7 separate regions of the Homo sapiens genome follow, and all the other regions are linked to region 7. Evidence: promoter capture Hi-C in 16 types of primary human blood cells and fetal thymus (Javierre and others, 2016). All regions are on one chromosome and are shown on one strand. Each heading gives the region's core, a stretch centred on a gene start or on the middle of the fragment in contact. The rest is flanking DNA. Distances are from core to core; before and after follow the strand shown. Region 1 has its middle 19 kb from the start of LINC02498. Region 2 overlaps LINC02498 (long intergenic non-protein coding RNA 2498). Region 3 overlaps CLNK (cytokine dependent hematopoietic cell linker). Region 4 has its middle 14 kb from the start of CLNK. Region 5 overlaps CLNK (cytokine dependent hematopoietic cell linker). Region 6 holds the start of LINC02498 (long intergenic non-protein coding RNA 2498). Region 7 holds the start of HS3ST1 (heparan sulfate-glucosamine 3-sulfotransferase 1).

Region 1 (2,858 bases), core at 46-2,545, 710 kb after region 7:
TATTTAGAATTGTAGCTTAGTTTGAAAGTGTCTGGGGATTTTTCTGGTATCTTTGTTACTGATTTCCAGTTTGATTCCACATTGGCTCTGTATGATTTTAAATACTTTAAGTTTGCCAAGGTTTGTTTTATGTCCCAGGATGTGGTCTGTCTTGATATATGTTCTATGGACACTTGAGAAGAATGTTATTCTGCCATCATCGGATGGAGTATTCTACAAAGGTTGATTCGATGCTACGGTTGATGGTTTTGTTGAGTTCTTCTATACCCTTGATAGTTTTCTCTTGGGTTTTTTCTATCAATTATGGAGAGAAGAGTATTGAAGTCTCCATCTGCAATTGTGAATTCATCTATTTCTTCTTTTAATTCTATCCATTTTCAGTGCATATATTTTATAATTCTGTTTCTTTGTGTGTGTATGCACACACATTTAGGACAGTTAAGTCTTCTTAGTGGGTTGGCCCTTTTATCATATTATGTTCCTCTCTATCTCTGGTAATTTTCTTTTCTCTGATGTCTACTTTATCTAATGTTAATACAGTCACTCTTTCTTTTGATTAATCTTTGTAAATTAATTAAAATTAAAAGATTTATACATTTTCCATCCTTTTACTCTCAAACTGCCTGTATTATTATATTTGACATGAGTTTCTTTTAGTAAGCATATAGTTGGCCTATATATTTTAATCCACTCTGCTAATATCTGTCTTTTAATTAGTGTATTTAGACCATTTACACTTAGTATGACTACTGATACGTTAGGGCTTAAGATTGCTATTTTATTTTCTGTTTTCTGTTTATTCTTTCTGTTTTCATTTCTGTTTTATTTTTCCTGCCTTCCTGTGTGTTATTTAAAAACTTTTTTAGAATTACATTTTGATTTATCTATGGAGTTTTTGACTGTATCTTTTTGAAGAGGTTTATTTATTATTTTTAGTGCTTGCTCTAGGTATTAGCATTATACATTCAACATTTACTACAGTCAACACAGTCTGGTGTTGTCATTTTACCAGTTCAAATAAAATATGGAAAAATTACCTCCTTTCCCATCTCTCCTTCCACCTTCCATTTATAATATAATTATCATGAATATTTCCTTTATATACATTTAGAACATATTAGACGGGTTGTAATTTTTGCTTTACCATTAAACATAATTTTGAAGACTCAAGAGAACAAGAAAAATCTATTTTGTTTATCCATATTTTAGCTTACTGTGTTATTTCTTTCTTTCTGATGTTCCAAGATTTCTTAACATATTTTTTTTGTTGTTTTGTTTAGAGAACTTCCTTTAGCCATTTGTTAAAACAGGTCTGCTTCTGCTAGTGACGAATTCTTCTAGTTTTTTTTTTGTTTTTCTTTATCTGAGAATATTTTAATTTCTCCTTCATTCCTGAAAGATATTTTACTAGATATAAAATGCTGGCTTTACAGTTATCTTATTTTCTTCAGGACTTAAAAAATATTGTGCCACTTTTTTTCTGGTCTCTATGGTTTCCGATGAGAAATTCACTGCCAATCAACGTACTTTTTCTTTATATGATATTGTTTCTCTCTTGCTGCTTTCAAGATTTTTTCTTTGTCTTTAGTTTTCAGAAAATGACTATTTGGGTTTTTTGTGTTTGTGGTTCATTTAGCTTCTTGAATATGTGGATTTATGTATTTACAAAATGGGAGAGTTGTCAGTATTTATTTCTCTGAGTATTTCTTTCAACCCTTCCCTCTTTCTCCTCTCTTTCTTGGGCTCCAATGGCATGAATGTTAGATCCAACACGTTTTAATTGTTCTACTTCCAGTTCATTGATTCTTTACTCTGACTCTTCCGTTCTGCTGTTGAGCCCATAGATTGAGGTTTTGTATAGAATTTTGTTTTATTTTAATTTTGGTTATTGTATTTTCACTTCTAAAATTTCCATTTGTTCTTCTCTATTTATTCTATTTTCTATAAGACTTTGCTGTTTTTGCTAAGACTCTTATTTTTTCATTTGTTTCAAGCATGTTTGTAATTGCTCATTGAAGCATTTTTGTGATGACTCTTTGAAATCTTCATCAGATAAGTCTTACATCTCTGTTGGCATCTATTGATTGTCTTTTTCTCACCAACTGAAATTTTATGGTTCTTGGTATAATGACTTTTTTATTGAAAACTGCATATTCCAGGTATTATATTATGAGACTCTGGATTTTACTTAAACTTCGTGTTTTAGCTGGTTTCCACTGATACCACTCTGACAAGGGAAAGAAAGAGGCTCCCAGGGATAGTGTGGGTATTGAAGTCCAGATTTCTCACCTGGCTCCATTGATACCTCCCTTTACCAGTGGGGTGGGAGTGCCTCATACAGCTTTTCTGTTTTGTTTTTTGGAGTCTCGCCCTGTCACCCAGGCTGGAGTGCAATGGCGCCATTTCAGCTCACTGCAACCTCTGCCTCCCGGGTTCAAGCAATTTTCCTGCCTCAGCCTCCCGAGGAGCTGGAATTACAGGCGTGCATAACCACATCCGGCTGATTTTTGTATTTTTAATAGAGACGGGGTTTCTCTAAGTTGCCCAGGCTGGTCTCAAACTCTTGGCCTCAAGTGATCTGTCCGCCTCGGCCTCCCAAAGTGCTGGGATTACAGGCGTGAGCCACCACACCCGGCCACGGCTTTTTACTCCACCCCCTCTGATACTACCCCAATGAGGAGGGAGAGAAACACATCACTGTTCAATGAGGCTGAAAGTCTAGGTATCCTACATGGTCTTTACAGACACTGACATGGAGAGGGGGCTTTTTATTGCCTGGCAAGGAGGAAAGCTCTAGTTTCCTGCTCAGCTTCCTCCCACACTACCCCAGCTGGGCATTTGGGGCCCCTCATTTCAAA
Region 2 (2,700 bases), core at 125-2,624, 680 kb after region 7:
ATTTTGACTTAGCAGGGAGAGAAAAGGGTGGTTATGTAGCCTAATGCCAAAATGAGACAGGCTTTGGGAGTGAAGTGAGGGGGTTTGCTCTACACTTCACCCACCATAGGCATTTTGGAGCATTTCCAGGTGTTAGAGAGAGTCCTTTCCTGGCTCCAGCAGCCTCCTTCAGCACAGAGGTACTGGATTAAGTACAAAGAGGAGTAAAGAGAATGGGAAAGTTTTTAGGAAGAAAGACTCCAATTTTTGTTTTCCCTAAGAATGGTATGTTTGAAATGTGACCAAAGTCTTCATTACCTAAAATAGTCTCTTTCCCCTGAAAGAAGCTTTGGGAAATGTGGTTGCCACAGAGACTCACAGCTTGAGAGGAGAAAATCCCCAGGGCCTGTGGGATCAGCCTATGATGCAGCCCATATGCATGGCTTTAAGCTTCATGCTGCGAGTCCTTCTTTGAATGACTGTGATCTTCCATCCCCTATCACATGCCTGCAGATCATGGAACAAAATTAACTGAACTCTGCCTCTTGCTCAGCTCAGTTAAGCCTCTCAGAATTGCCAGGAGGAAACAGGAAAGGCCACTCACATGTATCTCAGCGTGGTTGACACCTGGCCCATAATTCCAGTGGAATCCAGCCATCATTTACCAAACATGGACTTCATGCCAGGTTCTAGGCTTCACTCTGGTGACCAAGAATAATAAAGCATAGGTTCTTTCTCAAGGAGTCCCCAGTCAATTTAGAGAGGGCCACTTATGCAGGAGGCAAGGGTCAGGCTATCCACCTTTCAGAGAATCTTGGGAAGTTTCTCGATGGAAGCATTTTTGTTTTGTTTCTTGAGTTGAGCAAGAAACAGCAACGTGAACTATCAGGCAGAGAGTCAGCATGCTCAAAGGGACAGAGCAGGGACAGAGTTGGGATGGCCTGGAGGCTGGAAGCAGCTTGACTAGAAGGCCATTTTTGGAAAAAGATGCTGGGTCTCATTATGAATGCAGAGCTAAAGCATGTGATCATTTATCCTACAGCCAACAGGAAGTTCATAAAAGATTATTCAGATACTCATTCAAGTTAATAGTTCAGCAGCATAAAGAAGGACTTGGAGTAGAGCCACACCGGAGAGGGGAAGATGAGCTAACAAGCCCATGTGAGAGTCTGAGGGAAAGGCAATGGAGGTGGGCCCTCTCCTGGGCAGCAGGGAAAGAATCAAATGAGAGGACAGAGCTCCGTATACATTGTGCACACACGGCCACCACGCGAAGTAATGTTCATGACAATTCAATTTCAACTTTAGAGATAGGAAGAGGAGGTATGGTTTATCCTAGGGCCAACCTCCGGCCTTCTTGGACACAATCCCAATTTGTCCATCCAGGGCAGTCTGTGGACTCAAGGTTTGCAAATGAGGCATGCCTTAATGGCAAAAAGCATAACTTGTCCCCAGAATTTCTGCCAGGTTGATGAATATCTTGAATGCTGTTAAAAAGACATCTTGCCAAGGCGGGCAGATCATAAGGTCAAGAGATCAAGACCATCCTGGCCAACATGGTGAAACCCCATCTCTACTAAAAATTCAAAAATTAGCTGGGCATGGTGGCGTGCTCCTGTAGTCCCAGCTACTCAGGAGGCTGAGGCAGGTGAATTGCTTGAACCCGGGAGGTGGAGGTTGCAGTGAGCCAAAATCGTGCCACCGCACTCCAGCCTGGCAACAGAGCAAGACTCCATTTAAAATAAACACAAACAAACAAACAAAAAGATCTTTGGCACACATGGAGAGGAATTTCAGGGATACAGCTGGGGCCATTAATTTAACCTATCTTCATTTTTGAAAACGTCAAATACAAGTTTTGAGAATAAGTCTCCAGAATTGAAATGTCTTTGCTCAGTCAGTCCCTTTCTAAGTGATTACAGGAGTGACGTCCTGCACGGTCAACTGCAGTCTGAAGCAGGTGTGTTTAGAATATATTAATGGTATTTGCTGGAAAATATAACCATTTCCTGACATTTGTATTAATTTCTTTGAGCTGTTGGCTTATATCTGGATATTAATTTAAATCTCTTCCTAATTTTAATTAGAGGTATGATTTAACAGTGTTGAGTTTTTTTGCTTTTTTTCTTCAAAGAATGAATGTTAACTTTACCAATCCAGGATTTAAAGTATCTGTATTTATTTCAAGACTTAACAATGAGTGGGGATTAATATTTGGATAGGGGATATATAAGTGCATCCACTATGCCTCTGGAAATTAATTAAAAATGTTTTAAGATTTTTAAATGGTTTATTTAGTTAAATCATCCCAAAGTAATGAACTGGAGTAAGCCAAGCTTAACTATAAGTCTTAGGTATTTGAGTGTTTTCTAGTGTCTGTGTTGATCCCACCTCAGTATTCAATAACATTAATATTCATTTCCTTGTCTCATCTCTTGTTTTGCAGCCCTACTGCAAAATGTAGAGGCTGAACCTGTTCACCCATTTCATGTTCAACTGCAGCACTGCTCAATTCCTTTTGTCGTCTTTCTTCAGACATCATGCTGGTCCGTGCCCATTTGTGTATTTTTTAAGCGTGATTCTATTTTTAATTGGCAAATAATAGTTGTATATATTTATAGGGTTCCATGTAATGTTCAATACCTGTATACATTATGGAATGATCAAATCAGGCTAATAAATCCATGCCCATTTGCTTTTGCACCTCCAGTTGCCTCTGTT
Region 3 (2,919 bases), core at 236-2,735, 760 kb after region 7:
GGGATTACAGGTGTCTACCACCATGCCTGGCTAATTTTTCTATTTTTAGTAGAGACAGGGTTTCACCATGTTAGCCAGGATGGTCTCGGTCTCCTGACCTCATGATCCGCCAGCCTCGGCCTCCCAAAGTGCTGGAATTACAGGCGTGAGCCACCGCGCCCGACTCTATGTCTTTTAATGATTCCACCCTATGCCAAGGGCCTCTTCTGTAAGAGGAGAGGTTTTCCCCTTTTATGAGGACTTTCAGTGGCTTTGTCTTTTAGCCAGGGAGTTGGTCTCTGTTGAACATGGCTTCTCACCAAGCTTTCCAAAGGGAAACTTTGTGATTTCAGCTTTACAGTCACCTTAGATTTGAAGCTGGCAATGCGTAGGCCAGAGGACAGCCAAACCGTCACCATTTCACAAATGTTAGCTTCCTCCCATTAGGATGAGTCCACGGGGAGCCTTCACACTTGACTATCTGACACCTCAACATTAGGAACCTGCCTTGAAGAATAACTCTTCTTCTTTCCTAAAGCTCAGAGCATCCTTTTCCTCCCCTAGTCCCAAACTCTTCTTCACTCTTTCCTCTTGTGCACCCTCAGGCCAGTCAATCCGTATGGGATTGCTGCTGGCCTGCCCCAAAGTAAAAAGTAAATATTAAAATTAGAACGCCTCCATCAGTACGCTTACACATTAAAGAGAAATGCATAAGCTGGCACCACACAAATGAAAGGTAAGATGCCCTAGTACACTCCACATTTTATTCTCCACCTTCGGGTTTCCTGTCCAGGGTGTCCTGAGCTGGGAGATGCTGTTGATCTAAGGGCAGGCTGCACAGCAGCAGTGTCAGCATCACCAGGGAGCTTGTTAGAAACACAGAATCTCAGCTGCTACAGCCCAGCCCAGGCATGCTGAGTCGGAATCCATACTTTTACAAGATCCTCGGTTGATTCTTGGACACATTAAAGCCTGAGAAGTGCTGAACTAGAACAGGAGTTCCCAGCACCGTTTCCTTCCTGGCACACTTGAGAACTTATCCACAGCAGTCGCCAAGGCATGACTCAGAGAAGGAGCCACATGTCAGGCTGGGTGTGAGTGTAGTTTGGAAATGTGTGCCCCCCATCACCACACACACAGAGGTTTTCCTTTTGCTGTGCCTTGTGGGGTAGTTCTCACTTCCTTTGTCAAAATTATTAACCCAGTCAATTCAAGGTAGTAGATTTTAAACCTGAAGGAGCGTTAGAATCATCAGGGAGGCTTTAAACAAAAACAATTTCAGTGTCCTTCCCCAAAGCAAAGAAACCAGAATAGTCAGACATCATTCCTTTTTTTTTTTTACTTGTTAATGCTCAACTGAATGTAATCTACATCCAGTTTTGTGGAATAATGTCTCATAATTCTATAATCTGGAATTTCTTACAATTTTATAACCTGGAATCCTAAGCAGACTTTGTAACTATGACTAATTCCTTACTATCTGCCTTAGTCTTCTCGGGTGGCTATAACAAAATAGCTCAGACTGGGTAACTCAGGAACAACAGAAATTTATTTCTTACAGTTCTGGGAGCTGGGAAGTCCAAGAACATGGGGCTAGCAGATTTAGTGTCTGGTGAGAGTGCTTCCTGATTCATAGACAGCCGTCTGCTTGCTGTGTCTTCACATGGTAAAGAAGGCAAGGAATGTCTCTGGGACCTCTTTTATAAGGGTGCTAATCTCATTTCACGGGAGTTTTGCCCTCTTGGCCTAATCAGCCCCCAAAGGCCCCACCTTTTAATACCCTTACCTTGGTGATTAGCTTTCAACATATGAAGTTAAGGGGTTCACAAACATTTAAATCATAGGACTATCTCTCACTAAGCACTTTTACAATGAAAATTTTATAAGTATAAATGAATGGATGATATAGAAATATATATTGTATATGTACATGTGTATGTGAACCTATGGGTATATATGCATGTATATGTATGCAGACATACAATACAAGCACATGCACACATATGTTTTTATATGATTGTATCAGTTCAGTCAAAAGCATTTATTGAGTATACATAAATCATATACAAATTTATTTATTGAGTATACATTTCACACACCTCATTTATAAAGTTGAATAAGATCTAGTCCCTGCCCTCAAAGAGCATTAGCCATATGTAAAGAGAATTATTTCCGTATTACATAGAGAGTGATGAGAAAACTCCACAAGTACTAAGAAGGGATCCGGATGTCATGATTCTAAATTGCTTCGGAAATTAGCAGGCTATTTTTCATTGACTTTCCCTGCAACAAAACTTGCAGCTTCCCTAGCAATCCATTAAACTTCAGAAAGCCTCATTCCTCGGTGCTATTAGAGAAGAGCAGACAGACCCACTAGCGGCCCCATTACACCGCTGGGGCTAGATAAGGGCATCTTGGGGTTTGGTTTCCAGTACCTCTTCATCATTCTGGACAGGACTGATAAGAACCTTGACGCTGTGGTTCTGAGTGCTTTGGAAGAGACAAAGTCACCTGAGTGATTGCTTCTGGGCTCTTTCCAGTAAGCCAATGCCCTGCACTGGCCACCCAGGCTCTTTTGGGAATTTGGGTGAAAGTCACTCTTGCACATCCCAGATTGGGGATAGATCAGAGAGCAAAGGTCTCCAGAGTGTCCACTTTGAAATAAGGCTTAAGCAGTTATTAAGCTTGTTTTGTTCATTGGTGAAATTGTCTCCAGTATTGACGGAAATTTTAGAAAATATACAAATTACAAAGAAGAATGAAAATTGCCAATTATCCTAACACCCAGCACTAACTTGCTACAGTTGTCTTAGTTTATTTTTCTATATCTATGTGTAATATCTTAAAATTTTAGAAAATCTACTTTTAAAACTCATTGTTTTAAGTCATTCATTTAATAACAATGTTTCCTTTTCTGAACATTGTCTTACATGATTAAAT
Region 4 (2,700 bases), core at 185-2,684, 730 kb after region 7:
GCCATTCTTCCCTTTGTGAAACCTGTTTCTTCTCTGATTTCTATTGAAATGCAAAAACTTCATGAGTGTATCAGGGTTCTCCACACAAACAGAGCCAATAGGAAATATATATATACACACACACACACACACACACATATGCACACACAGTCAGTCCTTTATATCCACAAGTTTCAACCAACCACAGATTAAAAAATATTAGAGGAAAATAACAGTACAACAATGAAAAATAATACCAATAAAAATACAGTATAAGAACTATGTACATAGCATTGATATTGTATTAAGTATTATAAGTAATCTAGAGCTGATTTAAAATATATGGAGTGGCGGGGTGCCGTGGCTCATGCCTATAATTCTAGCACTTTGGGAGGCTGAGGCGGATGGATCATCTGAGGTCAGGAGTTCAAGAGCAGCCTGGCCCACATGGTGAAACCCTATCTCTACTAAAAAATACAAAAATTAGCAGGGTGTGGTGGCAGGCAGCTGTAATCCCAGCTACTTTGGAGGCTGAGGCAGGACAATTGCTTGAACCTGGGAGGTGGAAGTTTCAGTGAGCTGACATGGTGCCACTGTGCTCCAGCCTGGGCAACAAGAGCAAAACCGTCTCAGAAAAAAAAAAAAAAAAATATATATATATATATATAGAGAGAGAGAGAGAGAGAGAGAGAGAGACAGAGAGGATGTACATAGGTTATATACAAATACAATGTCATTTTATGTAAGGGACTTGAACATCCATGGGTTTTTATATCCAATCCTCACAAATAGGAAGGATGACTGTGTGTGTGTGTGTGTATACACACACGTATGTGGTGTGTGTGTATACACGTATGTGGTGTGTGTGTGTATACACGTATGTGGTGTGTGTGTGTGTATACACACATACGTGGTGTGTATGTGTGTGTATACACACACATATGTGGTGTGTATGTGTGTGTTTAAGAGACAGAGAGAGAGAGAAAGAAACGTAAGGAATTGGCTCATACGATCATGGAGGCTGAGAAAGTTCTAGGATCTGCCATCAGCAAGCTAGAGACCCAGGAAACCTGACGTGTAGTTCCAGTGTGTGTTCAAAGGTATGAAAACTGGGAAAGCCAATGGTGTAAGTGCTAGTTCAAAAGTTGGCACCCTTGAGACCAAGAAAGAGTCAACTTTAAGTCTGAGTCTGAAGGCTGGAAAAGACCAATGTCCCCACTCAAGCCGCCATGACAAAAAGAGTTCCCTCCTACTCAGCCATCTTGTTCTGTTTAGGTGTTCAGTCGATCAGATGAGACCTACCCACCTGCAGCAGGGAGAGCAATCTGCTTTACTCACTCACATGTTAATCTCATTCAGAAACACCTGCACAGTAATCCCCAGAATATAGTTTGGCCCAATATCTGGGCACCTCATGGCCCAGTCAAGTTGACACATAAAACTAACTGCTGCAATTAGGGTTCACAAGAGCTCTTTCACTACTTAAGTTGAAAGATGTTCCCTGACCTTTCCTTGAAGATTTTGGTTGGGGGGTGAAAATATCTGAGAAATGTGAGAATTTTGGAAGGAGCTCTATCAAGAGACAGAAGGGACAGGTGGATCTGAGCATGAAAGGAAAAAGCAGAGAGCACCAAGAACAAAATTAGCTTCACAGATTTTCAGAAATATGAACAAACCTGTTTTATATATATTGTCACATTTTATTATTCCAGTAGTCACCCATTTATTTATTTATGTACTCACTTAGCAATTAACATTTACTAAGGGCGTAATAATGGCATGGGTATTTCACCAGGTACAAGGGTCAAAGATTCAACTATAGTATGGACCTTGCCCTCAGAGTGTTCCTGTAAACTTAACCATGTTTATAAATGTATTAAGAATAATGTTTAATAAAACCCTATAATTGCTAGTTTGAAAATTGTCTTTAATGTTATCTAGTGTAAAATCACCACCACCAATGACACCACTCTCACCACCAGAGGCTTCCAATTTACAGACACATGACTATATAGACAAGGAATTTACAAACCACCTCCTGAGTTAATAGTTCATGGATGTTCACCTCTCATAAAGGTCTTAATTCCGAACTACAATCTGCTTATTGCAGCTTTTACCCCCACATACCTACTTATGTTACAGAAATTAACACAAAACGGTCAGCACTTCCATAGACATATATCCTGTTCTGGTCTTCATGGTTCTGTTTGATGATCATGATGATGGAGAGGATGAAGATTAGTATCTACAATTTCTTGGATTCATATTATATGTCATGATTCTTTGATGAGCCTCGTTTTATTCTCACAATTCAAAAAAGCAAAGGCAAGGTGGCTATTGTTCGAATGAGTAGATCAAAATGTAGAAGGATTGGTTACAGTTCAATGTTCCCAGGAGAGTGAAGAGCCAATTTAGGTTTGGGAACCAGTAGGCAGCTTCACCAAGGAGGAGCTAGCAGACAGAAAATTAAAAGCAAATTTATTCTCTACACACCCAGTGGCCGTCCTAAATACAAGAAGAGTCTACTCTGGCATGAGAAGCCATTCTTGTTGGACTGCTGAACTTAGAGAATGAATTATTTGGGAAAGGGGAAGAAGGTGATAATTCTTTTCTCTCTCACACTGTCATCCATCGCCATAATCCTGTTTTCATTGCACTTCTACTTGCAAGGACCACCAGTGGCTTCTTTTGCTCACCAAGGGAGATGATGGACTGGAATTT
Region 5 (2,824 bases), core at 14-2,513, 750 kb after region 7:
AATAGAGCTATCATAGGACCAATTTTTGTGTTTATTATTTATTTTTTGTTACTCTTATGGGCAGAATATTTGGGAATCATTATTGTGATTATTCTGCTTAATTTTAATCATGTCTTCCAAAGAGCAATGACTTACAGGTTACCATTTAAGTGTTGCTGATAGACAAGAAACGCTCATCATTTCTCACTTTTTAAGTAGGTGTACTTAATTCTTACTTTACAAAACGGATTCTGAAGTTCAGGCAGGCTCCATGCATTGTCCATTTCATGCAATGAATAGGAGGATATGCCAGAAATGAGACCCAGGTCCACCCGAGCCCCGAGCTCCTGCTCTCGGCATGGTGCTCCATGAGTACCCTGCTGATGTTCCCAGGTTCATGATCAGGGCATCAATCACTGTCTTCCAAACTAGTCAACAGCATTTAAGGAACTCCCAGATACACCACAAGCATTAGCAAAATATGTATTTTAGTTGTTTCTTTTAAATTTCATTGGTGATACTAATTGAAACACTGCTTCCTAAACACTTATGCATGAGAATCAAAATCCTATTGTGTTTAAATGGTACTGTGGTTTGTCATTTGAACTAAGATGAGCCAAAAGGTCTAGATACAACATGAAAATTTAATATCCATGTGATTGGATGATAATCTTTAACAGTGGTAGGTTCTGTGTTCAATTTCGTGTAAGATAAAGATAAGGGCTGACTAATAGCCTAGGCCCAAACTCTGAGAGGGCTGAATTTTTGTGGACTGCCTAAGGACCACATTTCACCATCAGTTTTGAAGACCCAGAAAGCTAATTGTATCCAAGGCACACAGAGTTGATGGAGCTCAAGAGGTCAGTTCACTCTGGTACTTTGACCTATGTATCCATCTTTGGTGATTTTGTTCAAGTGTACTCAAATTATAAGTTCAGATGATTGGCATATTCCCTCCCAGGAGACAAATGTACACAGGAAACTAAATTGATATTGGGCAGTAGCTTGTTGAGCACTAAGTCAGAGCTGTGTAATTTCAAAAGCTGGATTTGCTGAGCTATGGGTGGTCTGATGCCTTGGCAGGCACCTGGAAAGCCAGTCTGCCCCATGGTTACCTGTAGAAATTTATATATATATATATATCAGGACGTCCTCACTCATGGGCAAGTCTAGGGATCTCCCGATCAGCTTTATCTGTCTGGACTCTTTACACAGGACACCTCCACACAGTCCCCATCCCAAACTCCTACTTCTGATACATGCTGTTTTCACTATACCACGCCATCCAGTCGTTGAGACATGGATAGTGTGGGTTTGAAATCAGTTACTTCCTAGCAATATGGTTTTAGACAAGTTATTTAACTCCTCAGAACCTCTGTTTATCCTTTATAAAATGGAATAAAAATATCTACTGCTCGAATTTGTGGTGAGAAATGAGATTCAGTACATAAAAATGCATATCATGGTGACTAGTAATTATTAAATACAAAGTAAATGGTAGTGGCTATTATCATCATTCTTAGCATTATTATTATGAGTTTATTTTATATTTAAACAAACCTTCCTTAGATTCTTGGCCTTTGTCCCTTTTTTGTCTTCTTTTTTAATTATTATTATACTTTAAGTTTTAGGGTACATGTGCACAACGTGCAGGTTTGTTACATATGTATACATGTGACATGTTGGTGTGCTGCACCCATTAACTCATCATTTAGCATTAGGTATACCTCCTAATGCTATCCCTCCCCCCTCCCCCCAACCCACCACAGGCCCCAGTGTGTGATGTTCCCCTTCCTGCGTCCATGTGTTCTCATTCTTCAATTCCCACCTATGAGTGAGAACATGCGGTGTTTGGTTTATTGTCCTTGCGATAGCTTGCTGAGAATGATGGTTTCCAGCTTCATCCATGTCCCTACAAAGGACATGAACTCATCATTTTTTATGGCTGCATAGTATTCCATGATGTATATCTGCCACATTTTCTTCATCCAGTCTATCATTGTTGGACATTTAGGTTGGTTCCGAGTCTTTGTTATTGTGAATAGTGCCGCAATAAACATACGTGTGCATGTGTCTTTATAGCAGCATGATTTATAATCCTTTGGGTATATATCCAGTAATGAGATGGCTGGGTCAAATGGTATTTCTAGTTCTAGATCCCTGAGGAATCACCACACTGACTTCCACAATAGTTGAACTAGTTTACAGTCCCACCAACAGTGTAAAAGTGTTCCTATTTCTCCACATCCTCTCCAGCACCTGTTGTTTCCTGACTTTTTAATGATCGCCATTCTAACTGGTGTGAGATGGTATCTCATTGTGGTTTTGATTTGCATTTCTCTGATGGCCAGTGATGATGAGCATATTTTCATGTGTTTTTTGGCTGCATAAATGTCTTCTTTTGAGAAGTGTCTGTTCATATCCTTTGCCCACTTTTTGATGGGGTTGTTTGTTTTTTTTCTTGTAAATTTGTTTGAGTTCATTGTAGATTCTGGATATTAGCCCTTTGTCAGATGAGTAGATTGCAAAAATTTTCTCCTATTCTGTAGGTTGCCTGTTCACTCTGATGGTAGTTTCTTTTGCAGTGCAGGAGCTCTTTAGTTTAATTAGATCCCATTTGTCAATTTTGGCTTTTGTTGCCATGCTTTTGATGTTTTAGACATGAAGTCCTTGCCCATGCCTATGTCCTGAATGGTATTGCCTAGGTTTTCTTCTAGGGTTTTTATGGTTTTAGGTCTAACATGTAAGTCTTTCATCCATCTTGAATTAATTTTTGTGTAAGGTGTAAGGAAGGGATCCAGTTTCAGCTTTCTACATATGGCTAGCCAGTTTTCCCAGCACCATT
Region 6 (2,700 bases), core at 163-2,662, 690 kb after region 7:
AAAAATACTGGGTCAATAACTTAGCCTTTGGCAGTCTTGCCTCTCCAGTGGCCTCCATTATTGCTTGAGGGTTCTCTCTAACTCCTGCTCCATTCTTCTGCTTACATATTGTTGGCTAAAAGGCTTTTTTATTCACCCAACAAATCCTATTGATGGTGCGTTGCATATTTATCCTTGCCACACACAACTGCGGTTTGATTCTTTTCTGTTTGCCACTTTCCCAAGAAATTACATTTTCATGTGCATCCTTTGAGAACTGTTTATAAATCCTACTTCTGAGAGGTTTTGCTACAGTTGACTTTTATTCTTTTCCCAAACACAAAGCTCCTCATTGTCTATCCTGTGCAGAGAAACAAAGGTAAAATATACATGTAGTGCTCACCTCCAAAGAATTCATTGTCTGGTGGGAAAATGAGATAAATAGAAAATTATAATAAAATCAGATATGTGAAATGTTAATGATACAGAGTCAAAGATAAAGAAAAAGTAACACAGGCTGAGAGAAGGGCGAGGGGGAGTTCTCAATTCACAATTCACACTACCCAAAACACAGATGGTTTTATGTCATGAAAAGGAATCAATCCTGTGAGTTAACTCAACTTACCTAATGAACTCCCCATTCAACTCCCCATTTGAATACTATCTTTGCATTGTAATTGTATACTTACTTTTATCTTGAAGCCACCAAGAAGCCATTAAAAATTTAAAATAAGAGTCTACTTATTTTGACTTCCACCTCTTTCTCTAGCTGGATTTCTCTTCCTGCTCTACCTTGGATTCTTCTATTCACATGAGCCTTGCTCCTTCACTAAACCGCAAACCCGCACTTCTCTCTCTGAAGCAAGTGGAGCAAGTAAGGAGGCTACCAAAGTCTGACTCACAGAGAACAAGAGGTCAGCACACATCATAATCACCATCATTGTCACCGTAGCAACCATCACGTTGGTTGAGCATTTAGTAAAGATGTGTAGTGGGTGGTATGTGCATTTCACCAATATCCTTAAGAAAGCTTTATGTCACCTCTATTAAGTTGGAATTATTCTCTTTGTTTTGTAGATGATGAATTAGGTGCTCAGAGAGTTCCTGACACTTGCCAAGGTCGTTCGGCTGGGCAATACCTGAACCATTTGGACATAGGCTGGGGACGTGGGCCAGATGCTGTATTAATCAAAACTGGAGCTCACAAGATTTGCCTGATAGTGAACCTAGGACTGTCATTTTGGAACTGCTTAAATCCCACTTTTCTGTTTCAATTCCAAAAGCCCTGGCTATGAGAATGAGGGAGAGGCCAAGAGCACAGAGCAGGCAAAGCTGGCAAGACAACCGCAGGTTCTCCCCCTGCCACTGGAGGGGCTCTTCTGCCCTTGCTGCTCACCAGTCTCTACTCTCATCTTGTTGAATCGGCTGCTCAGTCTCCTGTGGCACAGCCATATGTATTCAAACTCATGTAGGCACAAAGGGCCTGGTGGGGATTGAAACTCAGGTCTCTGAAGTGGCATAATGTGTGCCCCTTTGCTCTGCTAAGGTTACAGGTAATGTATTAGCTGCAAGTTCTGAGTGTCAATTCAGCTTTTTTCTGGCTACCCAACCTTCTGCCAGGTGCTGGACAATTGCTCTCATGATGGTCCAGTACTGCTCTAAGCCTGAGTCTCCTTCCTGTCCCCTGTGCTCCAAGATTGATAACTAGATTGCTGCCCCAACCCTTGGATTCAAGCCTCTTTTAATAACCCATTACTCCCATGATCCCCAATCTTTCAAAGACTGAGCCCCCAACTTTCCTTCTTGGCTATCCTTCTATCCTCAAATAGAAGCTTCCGCAAAAGCCAAACATGTAGCTTGAGCCCAGCTCCTTGATGAAAGAGCTGAGGCTGCTAACTTGCCACCCACTAATTTCTAAGCCTGTCCTCCCTCATGTTCTTGTTATTCTGTCTTTCCTGTCTGCCAAGCCTTATTTTATAATCTCACATTTCACCCTGATGCTAATAAATAGGACAAAGACCAGGAACCCCATAACTGGCAGAATAAGATCTCAACTGTTTAACATAGAGAAGGTGTGCTCATGATGACATAGACCCCAGCAACCTCTTCAGCCTCACTCTTCCCGTCACAGGCTATGCCGACCTGAAATGACCCTGGCCCACAAAACAGCTTGAATTTTCATGGATGCACCATGCTGTTCATACCACTGCCCATTTTTATTTATTGAGATTTTTTTAAAGCATTATCGAGGCCTAATTTGTATACAATAAACTGCCCATATTTAATGTATACAATGTGATGATTTTGGACATACCTGTGAAGCCATCACCACAATATTAAGGCAATGGCTGGGTGCGGTGGCTCACACCTGTAATCCCAGCACTTTGGGAGGCTGAGGCAGGCAGATCACTTGAAGTCAGGAGTTTGAGACCAGCCTGGCCAACATGGTGAAACCCCATCTCCACTAAAAATACAAAAATTAGCCGGGCATGGTGGTGAGTACCTGTAATCCCAGCTACTTGGGAGGCTGAGGAAGGAGAATTGCTTGAACCCAGAAGGCGGAGTTTGTAGTGAGCTGAGATCATGCCACTGCACTCCAGCCTGGGTGACAGAGCGAGACTCTGTCTCAAAACAAACAAACAATAACAAGAAAAAAAAAACACCAATATTAAGGCAATAAACATATCCTGCACCTCTAAATTTTTCTTGTGTTCTTTTTGT
Region 7 (2,896 bases), core at 300-2,799:
GACCCTCACAACCTCACACATGATTTTACACAGCTTCCTATAATGGGGGAGAAAAGCCCTTCTTTTAAATCTAATGTTAGTTTAAATGCTAAGGCTTTCAAAGTGGGCCTTTAAAGTCACTTTTTAGAATTTGTATTTTTTTTTAACCTAAAATAGACATGCCAACATTATTCTGACTAAAAGAAGTAGACAAGGTCATTCAACTCCTAAAAGCTTATTTTCCAAAAGCACAGTTAGGTCTCAGCTTTCAGGGTGCTTCTGGCTGTATCAAAAAGACAGAATATACTGGTCACTGTGTTGTTTTCTGAAAGTGCCGAGGGTAATCTGTGTATGAGTTAAAGGGCCAATTTCCTATAGGAACCTTCTCTTAGATGGGATTTTTTTTTAATTAAACAATGTTGGTGAAATATATTTAAACGTAAATCACAAATTCGAAGTCTTCCAAATATTTATTTACTAATGTGGAAGACATGGAAACTACAGTAATCTCATTTAAAGGAAGTTACTTTGATGTGCATTTGCTTTTGGCGGGGTATGATTGCTGACCTGCCTTTGAGGGCAACTTCCTTTGGCTCAGGTAAGCAGGCAAACCCGTTTCTCCAAGGCGATTCCAACCCCACGCCCCTCAAAACCTTAAATCTTAAATTGAGTTATTGGGTGCAGGTCCTTTCTCCCACAGAACCTCCCAGCTTCCGGAATAGAGGAGCGGGGCAGAAATATCCTGCTTTTTATTTCAGAGCTGACGTTTGCAATCCTAGTGCACTAGCGGAAAAAAAAAAAAAAAAAAAAAAAAAAAAAAGCTGAATTTTCCGCGCTCTCCTGGCAAATTGGCGTCCGCTCTCCGACGCTAAACCAAAGGAAAAGGAGTGTTCAATGGCGACAGGGCGCTCTTTGAAGCCGGCTCCTCACGCGGATTCTGGCCCAGGCCGCCGCTCCGGTCCCAGTCCGGCTGCAGAGCGAATTGGAGAGGATGGCACCTCCTGCTTCCCGGGGGGCGGAAGGAGCGCCAGCGCCTAAGGTGGGTCACCTGCCAGGAAGGGAATACGCATGGTGCAGACTCACGTGGGAGGAGCACAGGTCCCGGGTACAAGTGCCGAGCTGGCGACTTAGAGAAGAGGTAGACTCGGGCTCAGACCAAGCAGGCGTAAGGGAGTAGACGGGACGTCCCGTGTTTGCAGTGACGGCGGAGTCACCCATCCCAGCAGCCTCACCTTCTTGGAGCGCTGGTCCCTCCCCTTGGACTGAAACCCCAGGGGCCACCGCACCGGGTGGGCGGGACCGACTACTACCCGACCAGCCGCTGGAGCTGCGTGCCAGGCGGGGCTGTGCGGAGCAGCTGAGCGCAGAGCGGAGCACCAGGCACCTAGCGGGCCGGACTCTGGGCGGCACCCGAGCGGGCCGGGCAGCAGTGGGCGCTCGCGATCCTCCTCTGCCCAACGCGCTCTCCCTCCGGGCCCGGCCTCCTCCGTCCCCTCCTTTTGCTCCCGCTCCTCCTCCCGCTCCTCCCCCTCCTCGGGATTGAGCACCAAAACGCCCGCCTGCAAGGTCCTCTGCGCCCTGGCAGCCAGGAGTCGCCGCCACGACAGCCGGGTCTCAGTGGGTGCCTGCGCCTTCTCCCCGCCCGCCTGCCCCGGGCCATCCAGAAACTTGCTCTACCCGCCGCGGGTGCTCGGCAGTGCTGCCCATGGCCCAGCCTAGGAGCCTATTTAGGGCGCCGGACGGGCTGGACAGAGGCGCGGCTCAGGTGAGTGCGGCGCGCGCGGGGTGGGAGAGTGGCAGGACGCAGGTGTAGAGGGCTCCGAGGTGCCTTTGTCTGGCGTTCTGGACTTCGGGCAAGTGCAGAACCTAAGAAGAATCGAGGCTGGAGCAGGTGGAGTGGATGCAGAGGGAACCAGGAAGCAAAGGCTGGGGATTTTCCCATCCTCCTCACCTCCTGCCCTAGCACCTCTGCTCTGGAAGTCCCGAGGGACCGGTTGATCTGTAAGGACAGGGACCCAGATTTCTGACTCTTACTGGGTTGGATGTTTTCCCCCCCTGCAGAGTCGTGAGGTTCGCTCCTGCCGGCCGCTTCGCGACCGCAGCTTCACCATAGGACCCTGTAGGGCAGCGAGAGCGCAGCACTCAACGGATCCTGGGTACCACCTGGGGCCAGAAACTGGGGCGAGGACACAGCCCGCAAAAGTAACTCGGCTGAGGGAGCCTTTGGGGGTGGAGAAGCCTTGGTCGGGTTTGCCTTTGCATTTGGTTGGAGATAGGCATCTCCCAAAGAGAGAGATTGAGGTGACAGCCCTGACAATAAACCTCTCATCCCTAATGCCAATTACATGAGGGTCTTGATTTTTTTCTTGTTACTTTTTACTGATTTTTTTCCCCCTTCGTGGTTTTCTATTTCCGGGCCCTTGGGTAGTGGCAGCGGATGGAGGTGAGGGATGGCGGGGTGCGAACCCGCGGTTGGAACGCCTAGACCCCAGCTCCCAGGAAGGGTCTTATTCGCGGAGCTTGACCTCTCCAGGTGCGCTCTACCAGCCAGGGGGCGGACGGCGCGCTGCTCCTCCTTCTAGCCCCAGCCTGTCCCAGGAAGCGGAGGACAGACCCAGAACGTAGGCGGATGATGGGAAGAAGAAGCTGGAGCCAAAGCCGGGTGCCGGCGCGGGATGGGGTGTGCTGGGCTCTGCAGTTATAGGTCTATAACTCTGCAGTTATAGGCGCTATAGGTCTTCCATCTCTTTCCCTCCCCTGGGAGCCAGCGATTCCTCGCACACTCAGGGCGCTCTCTTGGGCCAAGGGTTGCATCCTCCCTCTTCCTCCTCCTTTGCAGATCCAGTGGTACCCTTGCCTCGCCTTGCGCGAGTCTCGCTCCTCCCTTTCCCACAATGTTATCATGAGCTATTTTTAT

Evidence for each region. Contacts are between HindIII fragments. The CHiCAGO score rates a contact against its expected background, and 5 or more counts as called.
Region 1: a contact is called between a fragment that was not itself captured here and the fragment with the promoter of HS3ST1 in region 7, in 3 of 17 cell types (total B cells, fetal thymus and naive B cells). The highest score is 6.1, in total B cells.
Region 2: a contact is called between a fragment that was not itself captured here and the fragment with the promoter of HS3ST1 in region 7, in 1 of 17 cell types (total B cells). The highest score is 8.7, in total B cells.
Region 3: a fragment that was not itself captured here is called in contact with the fragment with the promoter of HS3ST1 in region 7 in 3 of 17 cell types (total B cells, naive B cells and fetal thymus); the score reaches 8.4 in total B cells.
Region 4: a contact is called between a fragment that was not itself captured here and the fragment with the promoter of HS3ST1 in region 7, in 1 of 17 cell types (naive B cells). The highest score is 5.3, in naive B cells.
Region 5: a contact is called between a fragment that was not itself captured here and the fragment with the promoter of HS3ST1 in region 7, in 3 of 17 cell types (naive B cells, total B cells and fetal thymus). The highest score is 9.7, in naive B cells.
Region 6: a contact is called between a fragment that was not itself captured here and the fragment with the promoter of HS3ST1 in region 7, in 3 of 17 cell types (naive B cells, total B cells and fetal thymus). The highest score is 7.0, in naive B cells.

Annotation. Positions count from the first base shown.
Region 1 is chr4:10,717,093-10,719,950 of GRCh38, reverse strand. It overlaps a transcript of CLNK not described here. Among named protein-coding and RNA genes, the nearest start is that of LINC02498, 19 kb to the left of the region's middle. The HindIII fragment of the contact is 4,395 bases long and covers 1-2,858 here.
Region 2 is chr4:10,751,928-10,754,627 of GRCh38, reverse strand. All of the region lies in intron 2 of LINC02498 (long intergenic non-protein coding RNA 2498), which reads right to left. Among named protein-coding and RNA genes, the nearest start is that of LINC02498, 16 kb to the right of the region's middle. The HindIII fragment of the contact is 1,886 bases long and covers 432-2,317 here.
Region 3 is chr4:10,662,630-10,665,548 of GRCh38, reverse strand. The region is part of intron 2 of CLNK (cytokine dependent hematopoietic cell linker); the gene reads left to right. Among named protein-coding and RNA genes, the nearest start is that of CLNK, 21 kb to the left of the region's middle. RefSeq lists a silencer at 2,272-2,449. The HindIII fragment of the contact is 2,360 bases long and covers 306-2,665 here.
Region 4 is chr4:10,697,442-10,700,141 of GRCh38, reverse strand. It overlaps a transcript of CLNK not described here. Among named protein-coding and RNA genes, the nearest start is that of CLNK, 14 kb to the right of the region's middle. The HindIII fragment of the contact is 4,621 bases long and covers 1-2,700 here.
Region 5 is chr4:10,679,285-10,682,108 of GRCh38, reverse strand. All of the region lies in intron 1 of CLNK (cytokine dependent hematopoietic cell linker), which reads left to right. Among named protein-coding and RNA genes, the nearest start is that of CLNK, 4.1 kb to the left of the region's middle. The HindIII fragment of the contact is 5,691 bases long and covers 1-2,824 here.
Region 6 is chr4:10,735,746-10,738,445 of GRCh38, reverse strand. LINC02498 (long intergenic non-protein coding RNA 2498) reads right to left here and starts at 855. Exons shown (of 4, transcript XR_925377.3): 1 at 669-855; 2 at 1-340. The HindIII fragment of the contact is 802 bases long and covers 1,012-1,813 here.
Region 7 is chr4:11,427,547-11,430,442 of GRCh38, reverse strand. HS3ST1 (heparan sulfate-glucosamine 3-sulfotransferase 1) reads left to right here and starts at 1,549. Exons shown (of 2, transcript NM_005114.4): 1 at 1,549-1,744. RefSeq lists a silencer at 1,404-1,583 and an enhancer at 1,674-1,893. The HindIII fragment of the contact is 3,893 bases long and covers 216-2,896 here.